Regions from separate parts of the Homo sapiens genome. Here regions 1, 3 and 4 are each linked to region 2. Evidence: promoter capture Hi-C in human tissues and cell types (Jung and others, 2019). All regions are on one chromosome and are shown on one strand. The core of a region is centred on a gene start or on the middle of the fragment in contact, and the rest is flanking DNA. Distances in the headings are between cores, read along the strand shown. Region 1 overlaps SPATA6L (spermatogenesis associated 6 like). Region 2 holds the start of PLGRKT (plasminogen receptor with a C-terminal lysine). Region 3 overlaps SLC1A1 (solute carrier family 1 member 1). Region 4 has its middle 21 kb from the start of MIR101-2.

What was found. Contacts are between HindIII fragments. The study calls those that stand out against the background at their distance.
Region 1: a fragment that was not itself captured here is called in contact with the fragment with the promoter of PLGRKT in region 2 in 1 of the 25 tissues and cell types used here (lymphoblastoid cells).
Region 3: a fragment that was not itself captured here is called in contact with the fragment with the promoter of PLGRKT in region 2 in 2 of the 25 tissues and cell types used here (lymphoblastoid cells and stomach).
Region 4: a contact is called between a fragment that was not itself captured here and the fragment with the promoter of PLGRKT in region 2, in 1 of the 25 tissues and cell types used here (lymphoblastoid cells).

What each region holds. Positions count from the first base shown.
Region 1 is chr9:4,614,708-4,620,003 of GRCh38, forward strand. SPATA6L (spermatogenesis associated 6 like) reads right to left here. Exons shown (of 12, transcript NM_001353486.2): 8 at 4,157-4,191; 9 at 3,216-3,403. Among named protein-coding and RNA genes, the nearest start is that of PLPP6, 45 kb to the right of the region's middle. The HindIII fragment of the contact is 3,178 bases long and covers 2,198-5,296 here.
Region 2 is chr9:5,434,928-5,440,583 of GRCh38, forward strand. PLGRKT (plasminogen receptor with a C-terminal lysine) reads right to left here and starts at 2,998. Exons shown (of 6, transcript NM_018465.4): 1 at 2,862-2,998; 2 at 1,642-1,767. RefSeq lists enhancers at 2,300-3,499, 2,555-2,644, 4,205-4,364. The HindIII fragment of the contact is 22,053 bases long and covers 1-5,656 here.
Region 3 is chr9:4,548,500-4,554,006 of GRCh38, forward strand. All of the region lies in intron 2 of SLC1A1 (solute carrier family 1 member 1), which reads left to right. Among named protein-coding and RNA genes, the nearest start is that of SLC1A1, 61 kb to the left of the region's middle. The HindIII fragment of the contact is 4,720 bases long and covers 970-5,507 here.
Region 4 is chr9:4,868,665-4,874,473 of GRCh38, forward strand. No RefSeq gene overlaps it. Among named protein-coding and RNA genes, the nearest start is that of MIR101-2, 21 kb to the left of the region's middle. The HindIII fragment of the contact is 7,452 bases long and covers 1-5,809 here.

The sequences.
Region 1 (5,296 bases), core at 2,537-5,036, 820 kb before region 2:
GGACAGCCATGGGCAAACTGGATGGCCTTTCTGTGGCTGTGTTATTATTTGCCGCTGATAATCATGGCCTTATTTACAAACTCATAGTCCAACTAGGTCCCAAGTTACCAGTTTAGAGAGACTTTGGGCACAAAGAATTTGCTGCCTCATCAGAGATGGCCAATAAAACTCTGGTCTGCAGCTAAGACTCATCTTTCTAAAGTCACTTGTGCCAACTCCTGTGACTAATGTCACAGAGCTCCTCACTCCTTCCAAGCAAAGCCCAAGCTCCTTAGGTCAGCCAACAAAGGTCCCCCTCAAACCTTTGAGTCCTGGCACTGACTTTCTCCCAAACTCCTCTAACTGCTGGAAGCTGACAGTGCCCCTGCCTCCCACCTGCCATCACTCACCTCTATGAACCCCATCATAAACCAATCTTCTCTCCTCAAGGCCACATGAAAGCATCACCTCCTCCATGAAACATTCCAGAAGTACCACCCTTCTTCTTTATACTCCAGTAACTTTTGTTCCACACTATTCACAAAGTGCTGCTTTGTAGAAAGCTCTTTGCATACTTCTTTTTTATTATTTTTTTTATATCCTCTGCTAGGTTGCAAGTTTTCAGAGATCAGGAGAAATGTCTTAAATGTTAGTGTTCCCATTGCTGGCCTAGCAGATTGAGTATCATTCCTGCTTTCCGTCTTAACCACAGATTTAACGTGCTCCCCGCCCACATACTCAATTCCAATCCCAGTTGATTTTGACTCAGTAAACATGAGGCAATTCTTCCGTTGGCCAGAGTTGAGAATTGCTGGCCTGCTGCATAAAGACACTCAGGAAAGGCTGGCTGAATGAATGCATAAACCATCTAACACATATTTAAAGAGAAAAGAGGACTTCTCAGGTCTCTCTCCTGATGTAACTGATTTCCTCTCACTCTGTCTCTCCCCTGCATTTGGATTGTACTTCTGTTAGGTACCTACCACAATCTATCTCATATTCAGTGACAAGGGGGTATGTCTGCCTTCCTGTCTAGTATGTGAGCCAGTGGAAAGCAGAGACATGTCATGATGGTGTCCATTGCCCCCAACAGTTGCCCAATAACAGCATGCTCAATACAGTCTCTCAGAAAAGCTTGCTGTACTGCTTTTAAGGAGTTTGGGAGGTGTTATAGATACCAGGCACAGAGACAAAAACCACGGGTTTTCCCCAGTTCTGGTGGCTGAGAAGCACTTTGTGGCTGTATGCAGATGGATCTTTGATCATCAAACCCATTTTAAAGATGAGGAAACTGAGGTTTAAAAGGTTGAAGCCAGGCACGGTGGCTCATGCCTGTACCCAGCACTTTGGGAGGCCAAGACAATTGCTTGAGCCCAGGAGTTTGAGAAGAGCCTGGGCAACACAGTGAGACCCCATCTTTACAAAAATAAAAATATGAAAATTAGCCGGGCATGCCGGTGCGCACCTGCAGTCCCAGTTACTCAGGAGGCTGAGGCAGGAGGATTGCTTGGGTTGGGGAGGTCAAGGCTGCAGTAAGCTGTGATTGTGCCACTGCACTCCAGCCTGGGTGACAAAGCAAGACCCCATCTCGAAAAAAAATAATAATAATTAATTTAAAAAAATAGGTGGAGTAGCTGTGTGAAATCACCCAGCACTTAGAGACACATGAGCGCTAGAGCCCATGTCTCCTGACCACTGTTAATTGAAAGTTCTTTCCGTTCTTCATTTAAAATCAATCCTCTACAAGTCTTTAAATCCAGGATGACCTCCTGTGCTTTGCCAGCCTGCTGAATTCCAGGCTGGTGGCAAAAGCATAAGACAGGAGGGGACAGAGGCCAGGCATAGAGAGGTGTAAGTGTGTCTCTGACCACTTGTCTCTGTGTGCCAGAGCCAGTTTTTTGTTTGTTTGTTTGTTTTAAACGGAATTGCGCTCTTGTTGCCCAGGCTGGAATGCAATGGCACGATCTCAGCTCACCCCAACCTCCGCCTCCCGGGTTCAAGCAATTCTCCTGCCTCAGCCTCCCGAGTAGCTGGGATTACAGGCATGCGCCACTATGCCCGGCTAATTTTGTATTTTTAGTAGAGACAGGGTTTCTCCATGTTGGTCAGGCTGGTCTCAAACTCCAGACCTCAGGTGATCCACCCACCTTGGCCTCCCAAACTGCTGGGATTATAGGCATGAGCCACCGTGCCCAGCCGGAGCCAGTTTTTTAAAAATCTATGTTGTATTATTTTCTTCTAATAAAGTAACTAATCAAAAGCTCGTCATACGTTAATGGATTTTATTAAAATATTTGATCTGGCTTCCTCAAATCCATGATTTAACATTTGAATATAGAGTTATTATGTCATTTCTGAAAAACACTAAGAAGGGATTGCCACTTTCTTAGTCTACCTCAAAGTTAATATAATTCCTGTAAAAATTTCAGGGCCACTGTGGTTCTGGGATATATTTACTCTGAGTCCCTTTGAGAGCAATTGCGTTATTTTGGTACGTGGAGTTTGCTTCTTATTCTCGTCACTAATAATGCAGAGAAAAGCAGATTGGCTTATCCTTCATTCAGAACAATGATCTTATAAATATTATTTTCAGTGCCACTTCCCCGAAGTTAAAGTAACCAACTGTCCTGGTTTGCCTAAGATTCAAGGGTTTCCCAGAATGCAGGACTTTCAGGTCTAAAATCAGGCAGACCCAAGCAAACCAGTGGTTACTTACCCTACTAGAGAGTGCTGTTTGGCAAATAAAGGTTTCTGCTTTTGCTCTCTGGCCTGCTCTCCAGACATATGCAAATGTATTTTCATTGTTTGTGAAAATAATGTAAGCAAAGAAATCATGTCTAGAAAAAGAATATATGCCCATATGTTAACATTTGTCTTTGAGTGGTAGGACTATAGGTAATTTTTTTCCACTTTTTTTTCTGTAATTTTCAAACTTTCTGTGGTGAACATTTTTATACTGGTAAAATGAAAAGGTTTAGTTTTTAAATTTATGACAAATAAAAATGGGTAGATAAATAGTACCTATGTCAAAGTTAGTTGTCTATCCCATTTACAGCAAATATTCTGAGATATGCCTCTGACTTTTGGGTAGATTTTAAAAGAAATAATCATTTTTTCATATCAAGGTGTCACCAGCTGAATATTCCTAAGAAAGGAAGCTGGTGAAATGACCCAGCTTTACCCCTGCCAGGCCACAATGCACTCGTCAGGCAAACAGATGGGTGCTTGCCACTGACCTTTCTCTGAGAAGGGGCTGATCCAAGGGGCCAGGAGAGGTGGAATGCTGGTAGGTGGCAAATGAAGCTTTCCCGTGGAAATCAGCATCCCCTTGTTTACTGGATGAAGACTTTCCAAACTGACTTGAATCTAAACATGATGATGAGTCACTCCTTAAAACAATCCGTTCATCTGGCTCTTTGATAACCTGAGTGACAATATGCATTATTTAGTTGTAATTTTGCTTCTGTTTGCTTAATTTAGAGCTGGGGGTGGGGGTTGGACAAGGAAGATAACTCGGGCTAAGATGACAGAATATTTGCCCCAGGGATCTCCTGCAAATAGAAGAGGATCTGGAGAAGAGAAGACTAGTGACAAAATGCTCAGGAGTTCAGACTGATAAAAATAACCAAAAGTCTGTATGTTTGGGATATATTAAAAAACCAAAATAAACTCATGCTCTGAACTTTGATTTCTGAGGACTAGGGATTATTGGTCTGGGAAAAATGTAACTTTAACAAAATATTTAAGCGCTATGGCATAAGAAGCATAGTATATTCCATTTTCTTTGCATAAATCTATTCTCATGTTGTTACATAGAAGTTTGAGCCTTCACTTTGACAAACCAATCAAACTTCAAGAACAAGTGATTTACCACCTCTATGTATAAAATTATTTGATTAGAGAAAAAGCAATGAAAATCACTACCAATAAAGTAGGTATTGGGTCTACATACACCCTCCTTGGTGATTCATCCTACTTATATGAGGGGCACAAACCAACTAACCCCTAAGCAAAGTATAACATGGAGTCTGGGCACATCTTCATACAAACACTAAACTACAGCAATTCCACCTAAGCAGACTAACTAGAAATATCCACCACTGATTGGAAAAAGCACAATAATTGACATAAGATATCTGGAAGTAAATCATTTTACAAATTCTACTTCTAAAATTACCTTTACGTTAGCTGCAAGGCTGTCAAGAGAAGAAGCTAGAAGAAAGAGGAACAGGCATTTCAATGACTCATTATTACCATTTAGCCTTAAAACTGCCATTATATTTATTCTACAGCAGTACAAAAATTTTAGACAATGAATTAATTATTTAAAAACTTAAATGCTCCCTTGTAAGTTACACTATCACTTTTAAGTCTCCCTTGAGCCACTTCAATTCTCCGGGTTGTGGGGGTTTTTTGCTTTGTTTTGTTTTTTGTTTTTGTCTTTTTGAGGTCAACAGTCAGGTTTTCTCTTTTTTTTTTTTTTTTTTTTGAGATGGAGTCTCACACTGTCGCCCAGGCTGGAGTGCAATGGCACAATCTCGGCTCACTGCAATCTCCGCCTCCCAGGTTCAAGAGATTCTCTGCCTCAGCCTCCCGAGTAGCTGGGATTACAGATGCCCGCCACCATGCCCGGCCAATTTTTTGTATTTTTAGTAGAAATGGGGTTTCACTACGTTGGCAAGGCTGGTCTCGAACTCCTGACCTCAGGTGACCCACCCGCCTCAGCCTCCCAAAGTCCTGGGATTACAGGTGTAAGCCTCTGGACGTTTTGTTTTCAATGACAGCACATGTGGAAGGGAGAAGGGTAAAGCAAGTCTAAAGTGAATGAGTAAGTTCAATAACCCTTAAGCAGCCTGAAAAACTCATATTTGAGCAGGCGCCCAGAACCTAAAAGAAAGTACTGTGTGTCTAATATAAAATTTATAAACTCTGTCTCCTCTGACATTTTCTTTGGTTTTCATGGAATCCCATTTATGCAGGAGCTCTTGAATATATTTGTCCAAGGTAGACACAAATGTTAAATTGAGACAACAAATATGTAAAAGCTTGGAGAAATATAGAACATAGCAAAAATGGAAATCACTATCATGACCATAAATGATCATGATAGGCAAGCAGACCTAATGCCGAAGTATGGCAAGGATGACTAGGAAATGAGGTAATAAAGACACAGAGAGAAAGTGAAGACTAGGTTGGATTTTTCCAGGTTGATTAAAAAATGTTTTTAAAATGAATATTTGTAAGGCAATTCTAAGGTCAGCATGGCTTCCCCCAGTGTGACCAGGGCTCAGGCAATGACAAGGGACTTTTTCTGGAC
Region 2 (5,656 bases), core at 1,748-4,247:
TGTAGAAAGAAGTAGACATAGGAGACTCCATTTTGTTCTGTACTAAGAAAAATTCTTCTGCCTTGGGATGCTGTTAATCTATAACCTTACCCCCAACCCCCTGCTCTCTGAAACATGTGCTGTGTCAACTCAGGGTTAAATGGATTAAGGGTGGTGCAAGATGTGCTTTGTTAAACAGATGCTTGAAGACAGCATGCTCGTTAAGAGTCACCACCACTCCCTAATCTCAAGTACCCAGGGACACAAACAGGGCCAAAGGCCGCAGGGACCTCTGCCTAGGAAAACCAGAGACCTTTGTTCTTGTGTTTATCTGCTGACCTTCTCTCCACTATTATCCTATGACCCTGCCACATCCCCCTCTCTAAGAAACACCCAAGAATGATCAATAAATACTAAAAAAAAAAAAAAAAAGAAGAAGATTGAGCTGTCTCAAGGTCAGTAGACCAGTTATTCTTCCTGTCATCCCACCACAATCCCTGTCCCTCTCCTACATGCCCCTTATTTCCATCCACCCACTGCTAACTGCCTTAGCCATCCTCCTCCAGCTTCACTCTCATTCTCTCCAAGATAGCATGTACTAAAGTTCTCAAAAATGGAAAAACATACAGATACTTGAATGTCCTGGAAAATGTACTTTTTAGATGAATGCACAGTAGTGTCTATCTTATGTAAGTTTTTAAGTGGGCTGTCAACTCTACAAGGGACAGAACTCCAATTTTTATTCTTAATCCAACTGGGTGGGTACAGAAGACCTTGAGTTAGTTGGTTGCATTTCAGAATACTGCAAAACTCAGGGGAAAGTTACAACTGCTCTACCCTTCTCAACAATGTTGCTGATACCTTTTCTCTTTAATAGGCTGTTGAGTAGGGTTGTGAACCTCAGGTAAGAATGGCCAGTCTTAATTCATTACAGCCAGGATTCCCAAGTATTCTGTGGGAAGCCCAGCTAATGGGGTTCCAGGTGAGTGGGAGCTGCAAGCAAGACTTCAGTGACTTCCTTGTATTCTGATCAAGGATACACCTGGAGTTTCAGGGCTCTGTGCCAGAGTCAGCTTCAAAGCTGAGCACAGGATACCAAACCACTTACCAGGATGAAGAGGCACAATGCTGAAAAGGCCTGAGGTGGTGAGATTTCCCTCCCCTTCTGCCACTGTGCCACTCGAGCACCCTGTGACCAGAGTTAGAGGCCACTCACTGACAGCAGGGTGATTTGGCAGTTCTTTCCTTTCTCCAAACCCTAACAGTCCCATGCGACTCATCTCTAACAGCAGACCAGAACCTGCCTGAGGTTAGGAGCGAGATATTATCCATCTTGATAGTCTCCATGGTGTCTACTTCCCCTAAATATTTGCACAAAGCATGAGAGATACAAGAAAAACTGTGGCTCAGGCCACTTGCCATTACTTATTTTTCTTCTGAACATAGGAGTGGATGACTAAATTTTTACACCTGCTGCAAACATTTATAAAGAAAACAACTGTACTCTAGTACTATTCCTCCACATACCCTGTATATCACAGAGCTGTGTGCTTTCAAGTGCTCCTGTTTGTAAGGGGTTAGGATCTCCCCTGAAAAGAGAGAGTCCTCATGTCAATCATCTGGGAAAGAAACACTGTCTGGGAAGTTAGTATTTAGATTTACCTCTTTCTGGGCCTTGCTCTCCTGGGTCTGGACTTGTAGTCTGAATGTGTTAGAGGACGCTCCCAGGTGGAAGGGTTAAAGGTGGAAGCCAAGCAGGAAGAAGAGCTTCCTTATGGGAAACCACACCTGAGAATAAATAAATGCATCACACCTTGTAAATTTCACCCTGGAGTTCAGTATTTTCAACATTCTTTCCTTTCCCAACTTCCCCATTCCTGGCAAAGTCATTTCCCAAAGTCTGGGAATATTCCGTAGGGTGTCCAGAACACTTTCAGCTATCTCCTCTTGCTCACAAAATATGTATCAGAAAATAAGCAAAATTGACCTTGCAATAGGGATAACTTTGATTTCACTCACTTGTATAAGTTAAGTCTTTTAAAAATTCTAACACTTTTCACCAGGGGTAAAAAAAAATGTCTTGCTACTTATACAATTTTAAACATCACTGTGTCTCAGAGTGATGTTTTGCAGAGAATGCTGATTTCAATCCCTCTGTCTTCATTTTCCCTTTGATTCCTTCTGAGATCTTGGAAGGGGTCTTTAATGCTTCAGCCCTGCCTCAGGTGAGCTATAGATTACTATGGGAAGGTGTATTTCTGGGGAGGAGAAGTGGTGCCTGCAAGTTCCAGACAACCTTTCTTCCGGTCACCCGTGAGTACCTAGATTTGATTTTACTTGGGGGGACATAAAAAATTAATTGCATGAATTCTGTCATCGGGATTACCACGCTGACTTATTTCCCGATCAGATGACACATTGCCTGAATGTATGACTGATCGTCTCACCACAGTCATTTTCAATATTTGCATCCCATTGAAATTAAGCCACATCCCCTTGCAAATTCCAGCCCAGAGCCCACAGCTTCCGGAGGTTTTCTGTAATTAACACCGCCCTTGCTCCCTGAGGCCAGTTACTGTAATTTAGGTATTCCCCGCAATAGTGTGCTGATTTCTGTTGAGAGCACTGTGCCTGTTTTTCTCAACTCTATTTTAAAGCTACGGAGAGATCCGGAGTCCACGCCAGGCGACAAGAACGCGCTCTAATGGAACGAAGTTGGCAATACCTATCAGCACCAGGGGCAGTGCGAGAGCCAAGAGCCGGCGCTCACGAGGAGCGGGCGCCCAGCGCTGCCTGGCAAGCCCGGAGCCCAGGAGATCGCGCTGACTGACATGGCCGGGCTGACCCTTCTCCCCACCCGCCTGCGGCCGGTGTTCACTCACTGGGCGGCGCTGGTGCCGGGACCAGGCGACCGGTACGCAAACCTCCAGGCCCGGGCTCCTTTCGCCCGCTGCAGGGACCGGGCCTCGCTCCGCCCAGCGTCGGGATTGGCGCCCAGACACAGTAGATGACGCACCTCAGCCAATTCGCGCAGCCCTCAGCTTCTTTAAAGAGCCGGCACTTCCGCCAGAAGCCGGGTGTGTCCTTCCGGGCCAGGCTCAGTGTTACCAGAGGTGGGAGGGGAAGGTCAAAAGAGGCAAATTCAAAGCCGCGGCGACTCAGCTGCCAGATTTTTGAGATGAGGCAGAGGAAGCGGAGTGGAATTCTCAATTAAAGGCCTCTGTCCCCTCATCTGTTAAATTGGCACTATTAAAAAGTCATAAAGATAAGACAGAAACGAGAAAGAAGAGAATTGACTGAAATTACCCATTCTTTTTTGAACAGAGCCGTCTTTCTCCCCTGCTGCTCAGAGAGATGTCGGTCTCGCCTCAACCTCACCAGCAATTTCTATCTTGAATAAGCCACGTCTCTCTCCCAGCCTGAGAGAATGCTTGAATTGTTGGCACTCTGTTCTTTGCTACCAAATGGCTTGGAAAAATAGCATGAACGTCACCAGTCTCTGGCCTTCAGGAAAGTCCCTGCTAACCACCACAGCGGTGGAGAAGGCGTCTAACTTTCTCCAGGCTCAGCGTGTGAGTGCACACCGCCCTGACCTCCTGGGCGCGTCTTGATGCTCTCAACAGCAGCCCTCAGGATTCTGGACTGTGGGTCCCACATTCCAGATACCATTTGTGGAATGGCTGGATGAGAAAATTGCAACAGCACCCTCATTTCCAGTTAAGGGAATGGGCGGGTTACCAGGAGGTTTGACACTCTTGAAGGGAGGTTAACAACTGATGCAAGAAGTAAGGAATCGTGTTTGAGTGCACAGACTCTAGCATAAACACACCTACCTTCAATTTCTAGCTCTGTCACTGTCACTCTGAATTTATCACCTCTGCAACAGGACTAAAGCCATCTAATTTATTGGATTGTGAGGACTAAAAGATAATATATGTGGGCATTTAGCACAGTGTCGGGCACATAGTTCGCCTTCCGTAACCAGTAGTAACCAGTAACAGCGGGGAGCTGTTAGTAACTATAGGGCTGAGGGGTGGGGGAAGGAAGCAGTTACTAAAACCAGGCGAGAGCGAGAGCGGTAGCTGTGGCTGTACGAGAGAGTAACCAACTGGAACCGTGTCGTTCAGTAGAGGAAAGCAAGCAATGCCAACTTTTCACCAAGTAAGGTGAGATTCTATAGTTGTAGCCAGTGCTGAGACGTCAGCCCAAAGCAGGGACAGAGTGGAGAAGACCCACCTCTCTGTTCTCCCAGCTCTGATATCCAGCTGGGGTCTTCCGCTGGCTGGATCCACCAGGAAGCCAGAAGACAGTGGAGCTAGGTCTGTGTAGTCTGTAGAGGTCAGCCTACTAGGCACAATGCCTGGAGGGAGAAATAGAAAATATCCAGCACACCATTTCTTTTTTTTGTTTGTTTTTACACTTTAAGCTCTAGGGTACATGTGCACAACGTGCAGGTTTGTTACCTATGTATACATGTGCCGTGTTGGTGTGTTGCACCCATTAAGTTGTCATTTACATTAGGTGTATCTCCTAATGCTATCCCTCCCCCCTCCCCCCACCCCACAACAGGCCCCGGTGTGTGATGTCCCCCTTCCTGTGTCCAAGTGTTCTCATTGTTCAATTCCCACCTATGAGTGAGAACATGCGGTGTTTGGTTTTTTGTCCTTGCGATAGTTTGCTGAGAATGATGGTTTCCAGCTTCATCCACGTCCCTACAAAGGACATGAACTCATCATTTTTTATGGCTGCATAGTATTCCAGCACACCATTTCTACAACCTTGGGTTTATTGTGTTTGGAAGCCTAGATCCAAAGGAAGGAATGCTGCCACTAGAAGACCCCGTCACTGAATTGAATTGAATTTCAATTCATTGATTCGAAAGCTGAAACTGCCCTCTGGTCACTTTGATTCCTCACAGTGACAGAATGGTATGATTCATCCCAAATACCAAAAGGAAATTGGGTTACATCTATATATTGAGGGCAAGAAGAACTATGCATGACACCTGGAGATTCACTGGGCACTTCTTAATACTGCCGTGTGCCATAATAATGATTATCAGATAACTGAAGTAATGCAGAAATTTCAGATCATGAAGAAATTAAAGTGTTGAAGCATACCAGATAAAAAAATCCTGATCTACCTAGGTGTTGGCATAGGGCAGGGGAAACATACATAAGTAAATGAGTAGGAAGCTATGATTATTAATTTTAGCCTTGCAACAAGCTCTAGAGGCAGGAATTATAGTAGCTCTCCATTTAAAATGTTAATTACTTCTTCCCTGACTCTCTTTTCCTATTACCCTGCATAAAGAGTAGTGGTGGAGATAAATATTACAATTTAGTTTCTGGGTGAGAATGTGCCTGAACTGACATCCCCTCAAGGCAATATGGCAGCTGATGAGGCTTGTTAAGGAAAATCAAAGCTGGACAATAGCTGTAGCAGTAAAAATAGATTTTTATTCAGCAACTTTTGAAATAGGGGGAAAGAGACCTTGGTAAAGAACTGGGCTCAATTCTGAATACAGTAAGGATAAGTGGGGATTTATAGCCGAGGAGCAGGTTGTGTGGATGGGGGTGGGGTCCGTGGATGGAAAATTACTAAGAAGAGACAGCAAGGGTAGGGGAAATCCTTGCTAAACTGACCTAACAGGATTCTTGCTAAAGGTAGGCCAGGG
Region 3 (5,507 bases), core at 2,080-4,579, 890 kb before region 2:
ATTAACAGGTAGAAAAAAAAATTCTGCCATCAAAGCCTCTGGTGAGATTAAAAAAATACTTTATAGCTTTTTTAAAAAACAGGAAGAACCCCTTTTTATGTGATGATAAGGTTAAGAAGCCAAATTTACCAGGGAAATTTGAACATAGACTGGCTGTTAGATGGTATCAATAATTTGTTAATGATTTTGTTAGAGATGATGATGGCATATAGTTGTATAAGAAAATGTCCTTACTTTTTAAATGCATATGGAGTTATGAAATGACATAATGTCTCAAATTTACTTTAAAACAGAAAAAAAAAATGGCACAGTTGATATAAACTCAAGACATTTTCAGAGACAATCATTGTGGGTACCAATAGAATCCTACCGATAAATTACATTGTGAAGAACATGCTCCCGCCCTGCTGAGGAATATCTGTGTTTGGGATCTGCTAACATTTAGGCTTGTAAGCCGTATTTATGTCAAAGCACCAGAGAAATAACAGGAAATAGCTTATGAATATGCCTGAGAATTGTGGCTCTGGAAAAATCCTGGTCCAGCCAGTGAGTTTAAATTCAGGTCACATTTTCTTTACTACTTCCCAAAATTAAACTATGATGATTGGAGCCTCCTATGACCAACACAGGGACAGAACAGCACCTCCAGTCCCGCTCCCAGAGGTCCCCTGAGCATCCTTCCCGGATGCTCATAACTTTGCTCAGGAAGAGGTTGCAGCTCTTCCACTTTAGCCTCTGCCACCCCCGCCTGGGCCAGAAGCACTCCAGTGGGCACAGCTGCGCCTCCTGGTGTCTGCTGTGGCTGCCACTACCCCGGTGACCTAAGGAGTTCCGCTCTTTGCTCCTCCATCCTAAGACAGGAGCAGAAGCTTAATTCTCCAAAGTGCAGCTGAGACCACACTTCTACTCAGGACATAATCTTTGCTAAAGGTAACCAAAAGCAGATGAAACACCAATGGTGACATCCAACTGCTCCCTGAAGGGGCTCCCAGGGCCTCTTAACAGGGATGCCCCTCTGCTTAGCTGCTTGCCTCCAGGAGGCTAGAGTTCATCTCTAAAGGTGTTCCAAGCTTTCCTGCACCCCAGATCCCAGAACCTGACACCAAGTTCTAAGAAGGAAAAATTCCGCTATCACACAGGCCATCCTGTCCTGACCTGGAGTGACCTCTTCCTGGGATGCTTGCCATTGTGGAATATCCACTTCAGAGAAAACCCCCCTCACGGCCACAGGGGGATAGCCTTTCCTCGTGGACCCCATCAGGAGCCTTCCATAGACTCCATACCATAGTACCTGCTGGGTTATTGCAACCACCCTGCTTGTAGAACCTGGGAGTCTGTCCAGGTCAGGCTGGGCCAAGTCCATGCCAGTTCCTGTGCACATTTCTTCCTCCAGAGCAAGGAGTTGCTCATTCCTAACCCTTCCTGTGATGTCGCAGCTCTGGATTTCCTAAAAACGCCTGCTCAAACAAGGGCACACACAGCTCCTCAAGAAACAGCACCAGTTTGCAGCTCAGTGGATGTCAAGCCAAGCAGATATCAAGCCAAGAAAACTCCCTCCTTTCCCTCCTCTCTCCCCCAGGCCACTGAGTGTGAGTCCTAGTACTGATTCTGCTTCCTGGACAAGTCACATTATTAAACACTAGACGTCAGGAGAAAATATTTGCGTTTTGTTTATCAATGACTTTCAGTTTCCACCAGACACTGGTTGGGTGACTGGATTTACAATTGAGGATCTTCTCCAAAGATAAATTTAACACTCTACCCTTGGAAGATTTAAAAAACAAAAAATGCTCCAGACTTTTAGATGATTGTTACTCCAGCTTTCATGTTAGGATTTCAAAATTTTTAGGGCTTGACCTCAACCATAGGATCAGAGGTTTTCTACTACTTTTTGTTGGGAAAGGGTGGGAAGACAGGGTCTCATTCTATGGCCCAAGCTGGAATGCAGTGGTACCAGTATAGCTCACTGTAGTCTTGAACTCCTGGACTCAAGCCATCCTTCCACCTAAGCCTTCCTAGTGGCTGGGACTACGGGTGGCCCACACCACCATGCCTGGCTAATTCTTACTTTTGTCGCGATAGGGTCTTGATATATTGCCAGGGCTGGTCTCAAACTCCTGGCCTCAAGTGAGCCTCCCACCTTGGCTTCCCAAACTGCTGTGATTACAGGAATGAGCCACCACACCTGCCCTACTTTTTAACCAAGTAAAAAAGTTTAAAGCCTTATAAAACCTTAGGTATATTCAGTATTTATTAAACAACAGCCAGATGTAGAATGCATATGTGAGTTGGTTGCCTTTCAAGCAAGGATTTTTCTATGAAGGGCCCAATAGTAAATATTCTAGGTTTTACAGGTCCTGTGTATTTTGCCCAACTACCCAACTCTGTTTGTCATGGGAAAGCAGCCACAGACCGTATGTAAATGATTGAGGGTGACTGTGTGCCAATGAAACATTCATTTACAAAAACAGGAGGCCAGCCAGGAGCTGACCCCTGCCCAGCTAGACTCTGACACTCCAGATGCAATCTAGTTGAGGTTGAATCCAGGTAACAAAATAAACTACCACATCAGGCAAGGAGTATGAATGCACTGAAGAGACTGAAGAATAGAGGGTGAGCAGAATAAAGTGCAGTTGGTGATAGTTTTAGAGCACCTTATTTGTAAACTCAGGCTTTACAGCAGATGACACACTTAAATCTTTGGGGCTGAGGAAGGCTTTTTTTTAAAGGCTATGTATTCATTTACTCAGAGGCAGCTGTGTATCTGGAAACAATCCCACATCCTCCTATGAAAAGAACCATGCCACGTGCCTCCCCGAGACAAGGTTCAGTTTTATTCAGCTAACATTTGTTAACTCCAGCTGCATGAAAACAGACTAACAGAAAACCAGGTATAAGAGGGTGAGGCCCTACCACTCACATGGTCATGGAGCTGAGGTCATCTGATAGTCAGGTCCAGGAGTCCCTCGTTAGCAAGAATTGCAAGACTTGAAGACGCATATCACTTTGTTGTACAACTTGCTATTAAATGTAAGCTACTGTTCATAAACATAGGTGGCTAAGAGCATTTAATGTCAATTTTAGCTACGAGGGAGGAGTATGCATTCTTTTCTTGAAACATTGGTGGTCCATTATACAGTTTAGTTTCTATGAAAATTGCCATTCAAGGTGGTTTATAAACTTAAAACTCCAGGCAGGAAGACAAGTTTGTTGCCTAAGACTGTACAGTCTGAGAGTGAACTTCTTGCCTCATTTGCAACATCTGGAACCAGTGGGCTCTTCATGCACTTTAAGTGCTCCTTTCCCTAAGATTATCAAGAAATTTGTGTTGAGTTAGAATACAGCTGTTGAAGCCAAAGGACTTATTGTATCAATTTGATTTCTGAAATGCCTGGCCTCCAAAGACAAAACGACCACATAGTGTATAAGGAAGAGCTCCCATAATGAACATGCCATTTGCAAGTAATAAAATGAATAGTGGCAAGAGATAAATATGCCCTGCTTTAGTCTTTCCTGAGACAGTGAAGCCCAGAGAATCAACCATGCATGAGCCTTCTTTCTGACTAAACAGGTATTAGACTTGTTCATAGCTCTGTTCAGCTGTAAGATAACCTGATTTGATTACTTAAAAAGGGATTCTAAGGACCTTCTATATATTGGAGGCATGGACCTGGAAGACCATTCGTTCATTTATTTATTTATTCATTCTATCTTTAATGAGCCAGGCTCTGCTAGACACACAAGGTGTAAAATTAAGTCTTATCTCAGCAAGAAAGAGTACATTACAATGCTGTGTGATAAGCACTTTCTGGGAATGAGGTCAGTGCAGGGGACATTGGAAGGAGCCATTTTGAAGGAAGCATAGAAATCAAGTGAAAGGAAGAGGGTGGGTATTCCAGGCAAGAGAAAATAGCATCTTTGTCCTCCCAAAATAGCATCTTGGGAGGACAGTGAGACTTGAAGTGCGATGCTGGAAACGTGGGCAAGAGGAATGGGATGGAAAGGGGGAGCACAAGGGTTTACTGGCCTCGTGTGCCTTGCCAAGGGGACTGGACTTGAGCCTGCAGGCGAGGGAAGCAATTCTAGCAGTGACTCCCACCTGTGCCATTCTCTACAGAGGGACACCTGAATAAGTATCCATCCTAGAGGGGCAAGAGAGTCCAGTGGTTAAGAGTACAGACAGGAGCCACACTGCCTGGGTTTGAATCCTGGTTCTGCCATGGATTAGCTGTGAAACCTTGGATTTTACTTAACTTGTCCTCAGCTTTAAAATATGGATAATAATAATGTTTCATAGAACATCTAGAATGCCATACAATTTTTTTACTTACTCTTTTTTGTCTGAGACCTTCAGAAGTTCCTATAAAGTACCTGAACTGGCAGCAGAATCTACAGGGCCAATATCAGAATTGAGCTACGCAGATATGAACACACTGAATGCATTCATTCTGGAAATGAGAACAATATAAAAAGACTTGCTCTGCCATCAGTTTGTAAAGTTCACCAGCATGTAAGAAGCTTTTGCCTAGAAGTCCGAGATACCAATTTTATGGATAAAGAGAAGCAAAGAGACAGCTCAGTCATATTTAGGTTGTGGCAAAAACCCAGAAAAGTCTCACTGAGCCATTAGCTAGCTGCTGCTGTCAGAGCATTCATATGGACTTTGGAAAAGAACAGTTGAGTTCCTCAGATTCTTTGGGGTATATTTAATGCTTTTACTGGACAATAAGTTCAGGGAGTCAAAAAGTTCATGGAGTCTTCTGAAAAACTGGTCCTAACTACAAATACCACCGTGTTCCATAGTAATGAAAAAAATGTTAAAACAGCTCCTGGACTGCTGAAACCAGGACACAGCCCACCGCTTCTTTTTTTTTTTTTTTTTTTTTGACAGAGTCTCACTGTGTTGCCCAGGCTGGAGTGCAGTGGTGCGATCTCAGCTCACTTGCAACCTCCACCTCCTGGGTTCAAGCGATTCTCCTGCCTCAGCCTCCCAAGTAGCTGGGACTATAGGTGTGTGCCACCACCACCGGCTAATTTTTGTATTTTTAGTAGAGATGAGGTTACACCATGTTGGCCAGGCTGGTCTTGAACTCCTGACCTCAAGTGATCCACTTGCCTCAGCCTCCCAAAGTGCTGGGATTACAGGCATGAACCACTGCACCTGGAGAGCCCACTGCTTCTTGATGCATGTTTTGAACTTCAAATGTGGACCAGCTGACAGAGGCTTCAAGGGGACCTTTAGCTGATTCTGCTCAAGGACCAGTTTATTTTGTTAACATCACCAAATAGCCTAGAGTGGTGATATTACCTATTTTAAGAGAGTTCTTCATGTCTCTAAGAAAAGTAGATGTCATAGGTGATGCATGCACAGAAAGATTTTGCATGCTCCTCTTTGCCTCTTCCTTTCCCTTTGAACATCCAGGGAGTACTAATCAAGGCTGCAGAGATTTCCCTATGCCCTGGATTAACAAAGTAAGATCATATCCTGCCTTGTTTTCTCTGGGGAA
Region 4 (5,809 bases), core at 1,388-3,887, 570 kb before region 2:
GCCCATTGCCAAGATCATGAATTGATGGCAACAATGTCAAGAGCTGCCGGCGGAAGAGCAATGAAGACATATCAAACCTATGACTCCTCCAGTGGGCGGGAGTGTGAGAGGTGCTTCTCATTTTCAAATGATTTGCACTATTTTTTTTTTTTGGAGATGGAGTCTCACTCACCCAGGCTGGAGTGCAGTGGCATGATCTCGGCTTACTGCAACCTCTGCCTCCTGGGTTCCAGCAATTCTCTGCTTCAGCCTCCTGAGTAGCTGGGATTACAGGTGCCCGCCACCACACCTGGCTAATGTTTTGTATTTTTAGTAGAGTCGGGGTTTCACCATATAGGCCAGGCTGGTCTTGAACTCCTGATCTTGTGATCCACCCTCCTCTGCCTCCCAAAGTGCTGAGATTACAGGCATGAGCCACTGTGCCCAGCCCGCACTATTTTTTACAGTTATATGTACACACATATATATTTGTATATGTATATATGTTAGTTTATATTAAGAATCCCAGGTAGAACTCCAGCAATTTTCCATCAGCCTCAAGGCAAATAAAGATTGGGAATCCTGGCTAGGTGTGGTGGCTCATGCCTGTAATCCTAGCACTTTGGGAGGCCAAGGCAAGTGGATCACTTGAGGTCAGGAGTTCAAGACTAGCCTGGCCAATATAGTGAAACCCTGTCTCTACTAAAAAGACAAAAGTCAGCCAGGCGTGGTGGCGGGTGCCTGTAATCCCAGGTACTCAGGAGGCTGAAGCAGGAGAGCCACTTGAACCTGGGAGGTGGAGAGGTTACAGTGAGCTGAGATCGTGCCACTGCACTCCGGCCTAGGCAACAGTGAGACTCCGTCTCAAGAAAAAAGATTAGGAATCCTCTTTGTCTCACTCCTCTGCACCCTCAAAAATCAACAACAACCAAAAACTACATATGCAATTTACCTGTGGCAGAGGCCTCAGAAGAGGCCACAAAAGATGCCTCAGGTGACCTGCTGCAATGCTGGGCAAGTGGCTTAGGCCCTTGCACATTACCCATTTTCCAGGGCTGGCTCCAGGCTTCTGAGTCAGAGCACTGTGCTCAGCCTCCAAATTAGGGTCTCTTTAGGGCCAGTGTAGTGCTTCCCAGAGGAGGTTCCATGATACACTAGCATCATGGGGTGCTTTCCCTGAAAAGGGCTTATAGAGGTTTTGAAAATGCAGCAGTCTCCATCACAGTGTACATTAACAGAGCAAACACTACAAGAAGCCTTGCAAGTGAAGCTTTGTTTTACCTGCACTGTTCAAACTCACCTAACCATGGAACTCTCCCTACCCTGGAAAAAGAGAGAGAGAGAAAGAGATTGTTTGCATTATGTAGTGCTCTTATTCTGCAGATCACACTTTGGGTGTTCCTGGTCTGATAGGATTTATTGATGAATACAGAAAATATAAGCTCTTGCATTCTTTTTTTTTTTTTTTTTTTCTGAGACACAGTCTTTCTCTGTCAGGCTGGGGTACAGCGGCGCGACCATAGCTCACTGCAGCGTCAACCTCTCCTAGGCTTAAGAGATCTTCCCACCTCAGCCTCCTGAGTAGTAGCTGGGACCACAGGTGTGTACCACCACACCTGGCTAGTTTTTAAAAATCTTTTGTAGAGATGAGGTCTTGCTCTGTTGCCCAGGCTGGTCTCAAACGCCTGAGCTCAAGTGATCCTCCTGCCTCGGCCTCTCAAAGTGCTGAAATTACAGGTGTAAGCCACGGCGCCCAGCCAGCTCTTGCATTCTTGATTGGGGTATTTGTGAGAAGCCAAGTGGTTGTCAAGAATCTAGGTGGAAAATCCAGACTCATGTCTAACCCTGGCCCCAGCCCTACAGCATTGAACACCCCCGCACATGAGCTTCGGATCAGTGGCCATCAGCCCAACTGACTCTCTGCCATCTTCCCTTATTGTCTGGGCTTCTAGAAATTAGAGGGGCCAGGTATGTGGATAGGGTTGGATTTTGTGGTGTTTATATGATTATTACAATGTCCTCATTTTCTTGAGAGTTACACAGACTGTTGTTCTTTTCCTCTTAGCTCAGAGGCTCAATATACCAGGAAAGCTCACTTTAGGTTCTCAGCAAGAAGTTGGAAGAGGTCAGGGAGAAATCCTTGGGGAGGAGGAACCAAGGAGACATGAAAGGTTTCTTGAAGTCCTATGGTTACTCTAAGGCCAAGCCTGAACCTTGAAACACCTAGATTTTTAGAGGATTCAGGCCAGGACACCACCTGCTATCACTGAGATGCAAAGACATGGTCCTTGAAGCAATGGACCTTGTTGCTCAGAATGGGGAGAGAGCTTGAGCTTTTTAAGTTGGCTTTTGAAAAGATACTCTTGTACTTAAGCCCCTGCTTGACCTGCTTCTCTGTTAATGGGCTCTCCAGAAAAGAGCTTGGCTTATACTCTCTGAGTGTCTTCTTCAAGATGTAGAGTTAATGTCAGTGCTTTTAAAATCTGTTGAACCTGTGTGCCCAGGATAAACTTTTGCACCTCTTGACAATCTGAGTGAGTTCTATTTGTAGTCCTGAGTTTTGTCTTTGGGAGTGCAGAAGGTGAAAGAGACCTTGAATCACCTGGACACCCACCTGAGAAGAAGAGTGAGAAAGGAAGTGGATAACAACCTCAGTTGGAAGTAGTGTGCTCTGAGTACCTTTGTTAACAATGCTAAGAAAACAGCTTTGGCAAAGTAAGGGGTGCTGTAGGGAGAACAGGAGTGGGTTAGCTGCTCCAGTCCGTCGAGGACTGTCCTACTTGTCTGATCTGTTTGCCGGGGATCTGCATGCCCCAAGAGGACTGTTTGAATGCTTAGCACATAATATGCTTTGTACATCTTGTGAGACTATCTTCCCAAATTTTAAGAACCATTGTTATTATGGATAATATACAAATGCATTTTAAAGCAGTATTGAATTCATACTTATTTCATTGTGTACTTTTTGTTTGTTTGAGACAGGGTTGCACTCTGCTGCCCAGGCTGGAGTGCAGTGGCATGATCGCTGCTCACTGCATACTTGGATTCCTGGGCTCAGGCGATCCTCCTGCCTCAGCCTCCCGAGTAGCTAGGACTATAGGCATGTGCCACCATACCTGGCTAATTTTTCAATTTTTTGTAGAGACGGGATCTCGCTATGCTTCCCAGGCTGGTCTTGAATGCCTCACCTCAAGCAGTCCTCCCTCTTCTGCTTCCCAAGGTGATAGGATTACAGGAATGAGCTACCATGCCTGGCCTGTATTTTCTCAATCAACAGATTCTATTGTTCTATTCTACTCTTCTATTCTATTCTATTCTATTCTATTCTATTCTATTCTATTCTATTCTATTCTATTCTATTCTATTCTATTCTATACAGAAAGAAGTCTGTGAAAATTTTAGATGCTGAAAAGAGGTCCTTGTGCTTTCTTGAAAAGTGTTATATTGTAAAATTGCTTGCCCCGCAGTAGTCATCTCTGGTTAGTTGCCTATCTTGGTTATGTAATTATTCTGAAAGGTTCTGGAAAGTTTGAACTTCTTGCCACAAACCTTGACTGTTTGCCTGCTTTGGAGGGTAGGGTTAGAAGAGAGAAGAGGGCTCATCACTCAGAGGGCTGAATTTCCATTTAGCATCACTGATCTCCTGATACTAAAACGTCCAAGCTGAGCCTCCCTGCTTTGATATAAAGTGCTGCCTCCTTCCCTCAGGATGTTTCCTCCACAAAGCAGCTGACTTCCAATGTGGCAAGAGCTCCTATTTTTCTTGACTCACAATTGCCACTGCCTTATGGATTTCAGAACACTTCCATGAACATTGTCCCATTTCATCCTCACAGATACTTCTCAGTTTAGGCTTAGAGAAACTATCAAACTTACTTAAGATCACACAATTAGTGGAGAAATTGCAGCAAGAACACAACACTTTGGGTTTCAGTAGCTCTGAACCATGACATATGAGTGTCTTTATTAGGTCATACCTTAGTGCCCTTTCAAATGGGCATTATTTAAATGTTTGCTCAATATCTGTTTAGAGATGAGAAGATGAACAGCTGTGAAAGAAGGGTAGAAAAGGGAGATGTGGAGGCAGCACCCAATTTTTCATGTTTTCCTCAGAAAGACCAAAGCCCAGCAGCTAACCGTGGATAAATTGATTATCTTTTGTTACTCAAGCATTCCCCTTAGAAATCATATTAGGACTTTTTTTCTTGAATGTAAGTGACTAAAAACAACTCAAAACAGGCTTAAGCAAATGTATTGACTCATTTAAAGGAAAAGTCCAGGGATGTACCTCACTTCAGGTATAAACTGGGTCCAGGGGCTTGAATGATGTCACCAAAACTCATCACTTTTGATCCGTCCTCTAGTAGGGTCACCCCACTGATGGCAGCAAGAAGTCATCAGAAGTTCTTGGCGTGTATCCTATCCTCTCAGCAGCCCCAATAAAAAGAATCTGACAGTTCCCAAAAATGTCCCCAAAGGGTTGAATATCATGGGATTGATTTAGTTATTTGCCCAACTCTAAATCAATCACTATAACCAGTAGTGGTTGGTCAGATTGGCCACATCTGGGTGCATGCCAGCTCCAAGAGCCCAGCGCACTTGGACCTCCCGTACCAAATGAGCTAAGAATAGGAGAGGCGGTCACCAAGGAAAATATGGCTTCTAGTGCCAAAAGACAAAGAAATGGATGCTGGGCAGGCCAAAGCAATGAATTTGTACTGAAGAAATGTTCCTCTAGCCCCGAACACCTGGCAGCTTACCAAAATACTGCTTTAGACAATATTCCAGACACTCCCTCAGCAGAATTCCAGTCAATACAATTTTCTCTATTCCACTGCATTATAGTTTGGTACCCTGGGCAGCTTCTCAGGTAAATCCCCTTTATTCCAACTCTGTCTTCACCAGGTGAGGAAGTTGCAGAGTGGAGGGATTTGGCCCAAGTCACACAGCCAGGATAAGGAGGAATTCAGACCAGATCCTGTTCCCAGACCATTGGCTACTGAAACCAGGAAGCACTGCTGACCCTGACACTTGGGCCAGCCCAGCAGCACAGCCTTGCTTGTCCCATGACCCAGCCAAGTTCTGTTAGGACCCAAGATTGGTGTAGATTATAGCACCAAAAGATCTCCAGGTTCTGGAATTGGTCCATTTTGGCCAGTGCTATGGTCTGAATATTCGTATCCTCCTCAGATTCGTCTAGTGAAATCCTAACCCCCAAGGTGATGGAATTAAGAAGTGTGGCTTTAGAGAGATAATTAAGTCTGAAGAGCAGAGTCTTCATGAATGAGATTAGTGTCCTTATAAGAGACACTTCCCCCCTTTCTTTTCCACCTTGAGGACACAGCAAGAAAGCACTACCTGCAAACTAGGAAATGGGTCCTCACTAGATACTAAACCTGCTGGCACCTTGATCTTGAACTTCCCATCCCCTAGAACTGTGAGAAATACATTTCTGTTGGTTAGAAACCATCTGGTGTATGGTCTTTTGTTATAGCAGCCTGAACAGACTAAAACCTTCCGAGGTAATCATACCCTATTTTAGGCTCTGGAGAGGGTGCATCAGTGTGGGCACTGCTGTGGACTTTGTCTAATATTCAGAATATGTGCATTGATTTAGGTAAAAAATGTTCTTAAGAGTCCCCAAAGAGTGATCATCTGGAAGGATACACATTGTGTCATTAATAGAAGTAGCACAGGCCTGTGAGATTGGGAAGGGTACTTTCACTTTTTGCTTTATCTATTCTCTGTTGTTGGAATTATTTAGCGGCAGGTGCTGAGCCCCAGTGTGATATCTGGAAGAATCACACTTGTACCTGAACACAGAGTTTGA